2 separate regions of the Homo sapiens genome follow, and region 1 is linked to region 2. Evidence: promoter capture Hi-C in 16 types of primary human blood cells and fetal thymus (Javierre and others, 2016). All regions are on one chromosome and are shown on one strand. Each heading gives the region's core, a stretch centred on a gene start or on the middle of the fragment in contact. The rest is flanking DNA. Distances are from core to core; before and after follow the strand shown. Region 1 overlaps FAM178B (family with sequence similarity 178 member B). Region 2 holds the start of NCAPH (non-SMC condensin I complex subunit H).

Region 1 (4,917 bases), core at 2,303-4,802, 580 kb after region 2:
CAGGGGCCTGATGGGGCTTCTGGGGAGCGGCAGACATTCTGTCCCATGGTCAGGTGGTACATGGATGATCTCTTTTGCAAAGGGCACGAAGTGTCCACCTATGATATGGGTCCTTCCATTCACACGTATTATAAGTAAATTAAAAGGTACACATGAACAATCATACCAACTTCCATTCTCATCTCCCTCTTTGTATGATAAAAATCACAGAACCTCAGGCTTAGAAAACACCTTGAAGTCTGCTGGGCGCAGTGGCTCTCGCCTGTAACCCCAGCACTTTGGGAGGCTGAGGTGGGAGGATCACCTGAGGTCAGTTCGAGACCAGTCTGGCCAACATGGTGAAACCCCGTCTCTACTAAAAATACAAAAATTAGCCGGGTGTGGTGACAGGTACCTGTAATGCCTGCTACTTGGGAGGCTGAGGCAGGAGAATCACTTGAACCTGGGAGGCAGAGGTTGCAGTGAGCCGACATCACGCCACCGCCCTCCAGCCTGGGCGACAGATCAAGACTCTGTCTCAAAAAAAAAAAAAAAAAAGAAAAAAGAAAAAAGAAAACACCTTGAAGTCACCTAATCTAGCTTCTGCATAGTTATCCATTTTAATTCTCTTTGCCACACCCCCAATAAGTGTTCACTTCAGCAAAGGAAGTGCAGTATCTGCCAAGACAGCCCAAATTCATTTACCGGACTAACCAAAGGAAATCGTTCCCATATTTTGCCAAAACCTGCCCTTCTGGGACTTCCACTCAAAGCTTCTGGATCCTGTCCTCTGGGGCCTCCAGGAGGGAGCTCTCCGCCAACCTAGGTCCTCTACGCTTGGAAGAAGTTGCCACATTCCCGTGGCTGCCCCTTCCTGCAGGTGCCACAGCCCCCTCATTCCCATCTTTTTGTATCTTTTTTTGCCATTTTGGTTTGGGTCCTCTGACGGCCCTGGGGGTTGTCAATGTTCCCTTTCAAGTGCGACACTCGGAGTTGAGGCTGATGCTCATTTTCTTGGCAGCCCCACAACACAACGCAGTTAACAGATTGAGCCCAAAGTCTTTTTTTTTCACACGTCTTGCTGTCAAATCCCATTTCCCAGATCCTGTTCTTAATTGTGCAGCTGGGCCTCCCTTTTCAACTCAGTCCATCATTACAGTCTGTTGAGATCTTCTGGGATCTTCGGTCTGCTGTCAGTTGTATTCATGTCATCTGTGAATCTGACCATTGTTCCATTAATAGCCTCATCCAAAACACTGGGCCTGCCCTGGCCAACCTGTGAGTGGAGACAGAACTCGGGGTGGTGACAGGGCCTGCCCTCTGGGCACACTCTGATGGCCAGCAGCACCTTTTGATAATGAGCCCACTTCATTCTGTCATCATTTGACCCGCATTCCTTCATGCCGAACCCAGCCTATGGTGACAGCCTCTACCAAATGCCCAGGAAACCTACATACAGGCACTGCACAGTCCTCTCTGGAGTATGATTCTGGTTGACCTGTGGAAAAGTGAGGCTTGCCTGGTATGATTTCTTGTTAGGACTCCTAGAAAGCAGTGTTTCCTTTTCTACGTATGTGCTCCCAAGCCGGAATCCCCTAGAGAATAACCTGGAGGAGCACATCAAGCACCATTGCCCCCATCTCCTGGAAGCCCTCCGCCTCCAAAAGTCCCCATGGAGCCACGGCCCCAACTTCATGTCTCCCAGGAGCAGTGAGACGCCGTCCCACCGGGGAGACGGCCTCCTCTGCACAGTGAGGTTGGTCATGCAGCCTCCCACACTCTCTTAGGCTTTAACCCCCTTCGACGACCAATATTTGATTCCAAATGAAAAACTGTTCTCCTTGACAAAGACGGCAAAAGCAAAATACGAATTGTGTAGTGTTGTTCCGTCTGCATCAGGGCTAACGTTTTACTGTCAGCCCCAAACCGCACTCCTTGCTTCAAAAGTAACTACACAGAAACTCCTTTTATGGCCTTCGGCATTTCCCAACAACACTCCCGCTGGTCCACGCCGTTTGTCCGGCTACCTTACTTTGGTGCCCTTCTTTCCAAACCTGAGACCACGAACAAGCTCTGAGGGGAGCCCCTGCAGCCTTTAATGCTTCCCTTCTTTTCCTCACTGGGCTCCTTTGTAATCCATATTCAAAGCTTCAGTGCAAGATCTCCCAGCCCACCTGAGACATCTCTCTTCTTAATTTTTTTTTTTTTTTTTTTGAGACAGTCTTGCTCTGTCGCCCAGGCTGGAGTGCAGTGGCGTGATCTTGGCTCACTACAACAACCTCAGCCTCCTGAGTAGCTGGGACTACAGGTGCACACCACAATGCCCGGCTAATTTTTGTATTTTTAGTAGACCCGGGGTTTCACCATGTTGGCCAGGCTGGTCTTGAACTCTTGACCTCAAGTGATCCACCTGCCTCAGCCTCCCAAAGTGCTGGGATTACAGGTGTGAGCCACCGTGCCTGGCCCTAGAATCTTTTTTTTTAAGTTCTACCTCTTTATGCTTCTTTGAAATCTACCCTCCAGAAGCAGACAAAGCACGAGTGTGCTGAGTGAGTCCCCCTGCCATGCCAGGCTCTGTGGACTCAGGGAGTACGGCCACAGCACCTGTCCCTCTGATGCTCACGGCCCGCGTCAGTGAGGGGGACAGCCTGATGGGCCTGCAACAAGGGCTGCTCGAAGAGGAGATGCCTTGGCCGGAGCCTCGTCTTGAGGCTGAAGAGATGTGAACCAGGCAGAGGAGGACAATGGGAAGAGGCCTCTCCAGGAGGAGACAGATGCGGAAAAGCTTGGAGGCAAATGATCATCTTGAGTTGGGGTGGCTGCCAAGTTCTAGGACGCGGCAAAAGCGTGGAAGCCTGCAGGGAGCAGGGTGGCATGTGAGCCTGGGAAAGGGGGCACCAATGCCCTCCAACCCCAGGCTGCACCGTGGCATTTCACCCTGAGGGGGAAAGTCTGAAAGATTTTATGCACATCAGCAATGCGAACACATGAGCATCTGAAGGACGGTCACACTCCGGGACAGCACAAGGTGGAGCTGGTGGAGAAAGCCTGGAAAGAGACAGTGGGATGCTCTGGCGGAAATCCAAGGGGGTTGCAGGAAGAGCTGCACCAAGGCAGCGACAGGGAGGGTGAGGAGGAATGAGCACTGTGGGAGATTGGGGAGCTCCAGGGCACCGAATCTGTCCATAGGACTCCAGGCCTGGGCAGTGGGCAGACACTGGTGCCACTCATGGAGCCATGGAAGACAGGGAAGGGGTCCTCCTGGGAAGGCGGTGACTCCTGCTTCCCACATGCTGAATCCCAGACATGTGCCACACAGATAGGTGCTCAGCAGCAAAGTCTGGCCACAGGTATTCATTTGGGAGCTGCTAGCATGTGCCTGGAGCTGAGGCCTCGGGTGCAGATGAGATGGTGTCTCAGGCTGGCTTCCCCAGAAAGTAGGCTCTGAAATGGATATTAGCAAGCAGGGAATTTACGTAGGGAGAGAGGATGCAGGGAATTTATGCGGGGAGAGACAAAGGAAACCAGGCTGCCACGCAGCCAGTGAAGGCCTCAGCTGACCCCACAAGGACTCCGGAGCCAGCAGGGTCCTTCGGAGACATCCTCAACTAAGGCAACGGGGAAGATCTTTGTGTCTCAGCACTGGGCTGCTGCCAAGGAAGGGGCCCAGCCCTGGTAAGGTGACCACCTTTGGCAGAGGTGACTCCTCTGCCACCCCCAGCAGTGGAAAGAGTGCCCCAGTCCTGGATCGGGGCAAGTGGGGGGCACCTAGCACCCCCGACTTCATGGGCCTGTGTCACAGTAAGGGCTAGGGTGGAATCCTGAGGCCCACCAAGACTCGAGGGCTGGTGGGGGAGGGGTATCCCTGAGGGCAGCTGAGGAAGCCAGGAGGGCCCTGGGAAGCCCAGGGAAGGAAGTGCTGGTTGCTCATCAGGAAGAGCCCGAGAGGTCCCTGGTGACGGAGCAGCTTGGCTGGAGTGCCTGGTGCCCCAAGAGGTGTCTCCTCAGCTCCTGGCCCTTTAGGTCCTTCAGACATCCCACCTGAGAGGGAGCCGCGTCCTCTCCAGCCATGTCCCCCTCCTGGCGATCATGGCCTGACCGCCGCCCACCTTCACGCTGCTGTCTGCCTCCCAGCTCCAGCCCAGGCTCCGGATGCGACCTTCATCTTGCCTCTTGTTCCTTCCTCCAGGTTTGGTGCCCTTCTGAAATCTCCAGGTTGACTGGGCCTTGACTGCCTCCTTCCAGACCTTCTGGCCTCACCCGCCCACAGTGAGAGCTCTCTGTGACACTCTGAGCTCCGAAGAATCCAACCTGCCCGAGGGTGGGCAGGATTCAGCCATGAGTGAAAGAGAACTGGGGGAGGAAGCTTGGAGCTGCGGCAGGAGCTCGAGGGAGATGTGGGTGGAGACAGAACGGCTGTTTTAAGGTAGGAGACGCAGGAACGCATTTATTTGCTGCAGAGAAAGCTAGTGAACAAAAAGCAAACGGTACAAGAATAAGGGATGACTGCAGAAGGTTTTGGGAGAGGCAGGACTGCCAGGATCCAGAATTAAGGGTGCAGTGGGCAGCAGGGAGGTGAGAACTGAGAGCACTGCGTTTGTCTAGTGGGGGTGGCTGTTCGCTGGGAGTGCAGAGGCTTCAGCAGCAGGAAGCATGGAGTCTGCTAAGGTCCCCAGGAGGCTGGCCAGGAACTCGCTGTGGCTCCGGGCAGCCTGAAGGGGTCAAGAGCCAAGGTGGGGACAAGGGACATGCATGTGGCATCACTGTTTGGCCGTGCAGTTTCAAGTCTGAGAACAGGCAGGCAGGGAGTCCACAGTGGAGAAGGGGTCCAGGAGCTGACCCAGGGCCGGGCAGTGGTAAGGGGAGAAGGAAAGGTGGGGCCCTCTGGCCCCACAGTGAGGAAGTGAACAAAATGGGAGGGAAACGAGGGTTTCGAGG
Region 2 (5,539 bases), core at 2,742-5,241:
TGTTGGTTCTTAGCCCAGTCTTAAGGAGGTCAGGAATTTCATATCACATGCAAACATTAAAGGCATTTGCGCCAGGTGCAGTGGCTCACGCCTGTAATCTCAACGCTTTGGGAGGCTGAGGTGGGCAGATCACCTGAGGTTGGAAGTTCGAGACTAGCCTGACCAACATGGAGAAGCCTTGTCTCTACTAAAAATACAAAATTAGCTGGGCATGATGGTGCATGCCTGTAATCCCAGCTACTTGGGGGGGCTGAGGCAGGAGAATCACTTGAACCCAGGAGGCAGAGGCTGTGGTGAGCCGAGATGGCGCCATTACACTCCAACCTGGGCAACAAGAGTAAAATTCCGTCTCAAAAAAAAAAAAAAAAAGAAAAAAAAGGCATTTGCTTGGAGGCCAAAACGAACGCAAAGCCATTTCAACTATATGCCTACTAAGTCCCAGTGACTTGATGGTTTCTATCACAGACTACATCATTATATAAGCCAGCTGCAGGCTGGAAAGTCAGGGCAAATTTGAAGCCAAAAGATTGCTTGTTCAGGTAGCCAATGGATAACACTATTGTTTCTCACCTAAACTAAGGCAGTTTCCCATTTATTTGGGGGAAGTAGAATCTCCATGAAGAGTAAAATGGGGTGGGGAAGGAAGACGACACCAGCTCTGCTTTTCTGGCAGCCTAGGATTAGTGGAGGAACCTTAACTACTTTACTTTTGCACAAACAGAGGTATTGAGCTTTGTACACCACTGAGATCAGTGATAAATCATTCACTCTTCTTTATTTATTTATTATTATTATTTTTTTGAGATGGAGTCTTGCTCTGTTGCCCAGGCTGGAGTGCAGTAGCACAATCTCGGCTCACTGCAAGCTCCGCCTCCCAGGTTCATGCCATTCTCCTGCCTCAGCCTCCCGAGTAGCTGGGACTACAAGCACCCGCCACCATGCCAGGCAAATTTTTTTTTTTTTTTTGTATTTTTAGTAGAGACAGGGTTTCACTGTGTTAGCCAGGATGGTCTCGATCTCCTGACCTTGTGATCTGCCCACCTCGGCCTCCCGAAGTGCTGGGATTACAGGCTTGAGCCACCGCGCCCGGCCAAATCATTCACTCTTTTGGCACCCTTCATAGTCCTAAAAACAAAACAAAGATGGCATTCAGAGCAGGAGGTGAAAGACCTGCCCGCATAAGGCAGCCCTGGCCCAGAGAGACACTGGGCATGGAGCTGGCTTTGCCTTCCTGCACGTGAAGCTGGAAGCAGCTCAGGTGGCTCCATTATTCCCACAGAACAGCCTCAAGGCTCACCTAGTGGGTCACTTAGTAGCTTTCCTCCCCCAGGGCTTCCAAGCTGTTCTTCAGAGGCTCCTGATTCAGTGTATCACCTAACCCTTGCTACTCTTATGTACACATGGAATCCAGAGGATCACACTTGTCCCAGTGTCCTCCCTCAGATGCATTCAGCAGAGAGAACAAGTGAGGGAGATGACAGGGACCCCAGCATATACTGACCAAGTCCAGTGCGGGGATAGTGCCTTCCCCATTTTATAGACGGGGAAGAAAATGGGGCCCAGAGAGGTTAACATGCCCAACCCAGGATTTAAAATTGTCTTCCAGATGTACTCATTGAATACATATTTAAGTACTTGCTATGTCCAGGGCCAGCACCAGGCCATGGGAAAACCATAGTGAACAGATATGGCTTCATCCTCATGGAGCTGACGGTCTATGTAGGAGACAGACATGAAATAGTCACCCTAGTGCATGGAAAATTGCAGCTGTGACAAGTTCTCCTGAAGCCTCCAGTATGGAGAGTTGTGTGTATCAGGGAAGGTCTCCTTGAGGAACCTGAGGGGAGTAGAAACCTAACTGGAGCTACGGGGGTGAAGATGGGGATGAAGAGGATCCTAGCTAGAGGAGTGTGTGTGTGCAGAGGCCTGGGGGTAGGAGCAGGTGTGATGAGAGGAATCTGAAAAAAGGCCAGGGCAGCTGGAGGGCAGGGAGCAAGGGGAGCAAGGTCCCTGAGGAGGCTGGAGAGGCTGCAGGGGTGGGGAGGCTGGCAGGAAGACCCTTCCAGGACCTTGTAGGACGCTTAGAGGTTCCCAGGGTGGTGGAACCCCTGAAGTGTTATACTTCCGGGAGGAAGTGGTGGGGGACAAGTGGGAGTGACAGCTCAGATTTGGACTCCGCATACACTACTCAGGGCCTGAGGGGGGGCCAGAGCAGGCCAGTGAGAAGGTAATGTGGATGGAAGGAGAAAGGCAGGATTGGCAATTTTTAGGAGGTGAAAATAGCTTGCTTGATGATGGATTGTGTGGGGAGAGAAAGGGAGGGAATCCCCCAGGATGACTCCTGGGTGCTGATTTGGGTTCTTGGGTGGCTGATGGTATCATTTGCTGAGATAAACAGTGTCAACCTGTTTTCTCTAACCCACACAGCCTTACGCTGAAGATTTGAAGGTGGTCACTAGAAGAACAAGTTTATACGAACAACAGATAGGCTTAAAAAGTGGTTTTCAGCCAGGCGCAGTGGCTCATGCCTATAATCCTAACACTTTGAGAGGCCAAGGCGGGTGGATCACCTGAGGTCAGGAGTTCGAGACCAGCCTGACCAACATGGTGAAACCCCATCTCTACTAAAAATACAAAAATTAGCTGGGTGTGGTGGTGGGCGCCTGTAATCCCAGCTATTCAGGAGGCTGAGGCAGGAGAATCGCTTGAACTTGGGAGGTGGAGGTTGCAGTGAGCTGAGATCGTGCCATTGCACTCCAGCCTGGGCAACAAAGCAAGACTCTGTCTCAAAAAAAAAAAAAAAAAAAGTGGTTTTCAACAAAGGGTGGCACTTTTTGATTGCCAAAATGAGCGACAGCACTGATGGCATTTAGTGGGCAAATGATGTTACGGGGGCTTAAGAGCCCACAAAGAGGGCAAACATCCTATCATGCCAAGGATTGTTTCACCCTGAATGCCAACAGTGCCCTTGAAGAGAAACACTGTAAAAGATGCCAGATATGAGAGTTACAAGAAATTCTAGGATGTGCTGGGGATATTCCAGGGAATCACCCTGGCCTTTACTCCCATAATTCAATCCTTAGGGTTAGATGAAACTGAGGGGACAGATGGCATTTTATGCTTATTTCGCTTTTTCGACCTTTATTTATTTTTTGAAGGGTGGGGGGTGTTCACAGGAAGCTATTCACAAGAATCTGAATAAAACGATGGCCTTCATCTTACACTATATTAAATGTACATTTTGTACTATATTTAATGTATACATAGCATTTCTGCATCAGTTCTTCCCCACCTGGACCGCTCCTCATTCCCACGTAGGCTCCCGCTCCCCTCCGTCCCTCTTCCCGGAGGTTTTCAGCGTTTTGCTGCCCACACAGCACAGATCTCTAAGGGAAATAAACCTCGTTTTCTCGATCATCTGCCTCCCCATTATAAAGTAAATTCCACGGGCTGAGCGCGGTGGCTCACGCCTGTAATCCCAGCACTTCGGGAGGCCGAGGTGGGCGGATCACCTGAGGTCAGGAGTTCGAGACCAGCCTGGCCAACATGGTGAAACCCCGTCTCTACTAAAAACACAAAAATTGGCCAGGCGTGGTGGCAGGCGCCTGTAATCCCAGCTACTCGGGAGGCTGAGGCAGGAGAATCGCTTTAACCCAGGAGGCGGAGGTTGCAGTGAGCCAAGATCGCGCCACTGCACTCCAGTCTGGGGGACAAGAGCTAGACTTCGTCCCAAAAAAAAAAAAAAAAGAAAGTAAATTCCACGAAAGACGGGCCTTGCTCACCCTGCTCGACGCTGGGTTCCCAAGCCCAGTCCTGCACCTAGTCCTCGAAGGAGGGGGTTTTCATACTATTTCAGGGGGTCCACCGACCCCAAGAAGCCCAATCAGACGGGGTCCTCAACCCAAAACTCACTCTGACGCCGCCCGCGGAGGCCCGAGGTGGTCTGCGCAGGCGCGCTGCTGGCCCGGCCCGCCGGCGACGTCACGCGGCCGTTACGGCGCTCAGGCGTCTCGACGCGCGCGATTTAAAACCAGCTCAGGAGACGCCAAGGAAAGATGGGACCTCCCGGCCCAGGTGAGCCGGGCGGTCGGGAGGCGCGGCGGGAAGGGCCCCTAGCGAAGCAGTACTTCGGGCGGGCAGGGCTGGCGGGCTGGCCTGGGCGGGGAGAGAGGATATGCTCAGCTCGGGTCTTGGCCCTGCGGCTGACAGCAGAGGCCGGTGCGGGGGGAGGGGAGGGCCGGCGCGGGGCGGGCGGACCTTGTGCGCTCAGCCAATCAGAAAGCGGCTTCGGCCGGAGTCGGAGAGCGCGCGGGCCCTGCCTCACACTCCTCAGTTCCCGGGCGGGCGGTGGGGCGGCCTCCTCCTTGGGCTCCTAAAGCGTGCTCGGTGTCTCTCCATTAAAATGGTGGTTTTCCTGGAATAGACGTTATTTTCAGGGCTTTGGAAGCGATGTGGTTACCGTTGTATGCTTAGCATGCATGCATTTATTTTTGCATCTATTCAAAAGTACTGAGCTCTCCCGTTGGGCGAACAAAATTGATAATATCTCTATACTGTTGGAGTTGGGGAGACAGACAGTAAACAAAAGAAATAATTACACATGAGGCTGAGTGCTGTGATTGAGTATAGCAGAGTAGGGGTGGCTCCGCCAGGGGTTCAGGGAAGATCTTTAGGCAGATACTAGGGAACGTGTTTCAGGCAGAAGGAGCAAGTACAAAAATGAGGCAGGGAAGAGCCTGGCCTGGCCTAGGACCTGACCAGAACATTGTGACCAAGCTTAGTGAGGCCTGACACGTAGGCAGGGTCTGGAGGCCTTGGGTAAGAGATTTGGAAATTGAGTTACATTTTGGACATGGTATGTGTGACTTACGGGAGAGACTCAGGTGAAGGGATCTATAATCACTTAGGTGAGAATTTGGCTCTCAGGGGAGTTATATGGACCACTCAGGGAAGTGACCCATGGATTGAGAAATAAATTTGGATACCATTATCATATAGACCATTAGACCATAAAACCATGGGAACAGGTGAGAACACTAGGAAGGCCCTGCACATCTAGGACCAACGTTTAGAAGCTGGATAGAGAAGGATGAGCTGGAAAAACTCAAAAGACAGTGGTATAGGAAGAAGCCAAGAGTGTTTCAACAAGGAAGGGACTGTCAGCTGTTTCAAATGCTGCTGGATTCCAAGAGAAAGGCCAGAAAATGACCATAGGGTTTAGGCAACATGGAAGTTATAGATGATCACGAAAAGATAGTTCTCATGAAGTTGGAATAGGAACCAGACCAGAGTGGGTTGAAAAATGAGTGGGAAATGAGGAAGTAGACATAGGAAGTGTCTTTGAGCTCAGTAACCATCGGTTGAATGAATGGATGCATAATATCAAAGGCAAGGAGAGAAACCACGGAAAGAAGATTTGGAGAATTAAAGCATGCCTCTAATTCCAAGTTTAGTTTCTCTCTTAGACAAGGTTCTCCTTAAGTGCTTCCTATTTCTGTTAAGGTATCCTCTCCAAAGGTCCAGGTTCCTTCCTTAGCCT

What was found. The method cuts DNA at HindIII sites, captures the fragments that hold promoters and counts their contacts. A CHiCAGO score of 5 or more calls a contact.
Region 1: a fragment that was not itself captured here is called in contact with the fragment with the promoter of NCAPH in region 2 in 2 of 17 cell types (total CD8 T cells and activated CD4 T cells); the score reaches 7.0 in total CD8 T cells.

The regions. Positions count from the first base shown.
Region 1 is chr2:96,908,624-96,913,540 of GRCh38, forward strand. The region is part of intron 12 of FAM178B (family with sequence similarity 178 member B); the gene reads right to left. Among named protein-coding and RNA genes, the nearest start is that of SEMA4C, 41 kb to the left of the region's middle. RefSeq lists an enhancer at 4,613-4,917. The HindIII fragment of the contact is 1,581 bases long and covers 2,763-4,343 here.
Region 2 is chr2:96,331,775-96,337,313 of GRCh38, forward strand. It overlaps NCAPH (non-SMC condensin I complex subunit H), which reads left to right and starts at 3,992. Exons shown (of 18, transcript NM_015341.5): 1 at 3,992-4,074. The coding sequence starts at 4,056. RefSeq lists enhancers at 3,465-4,306, 4,307-5,148 and a silencer at 4,067-4,386. The HindIII fragment of the contact is 5,174 bases long and covers 1-4,774 here.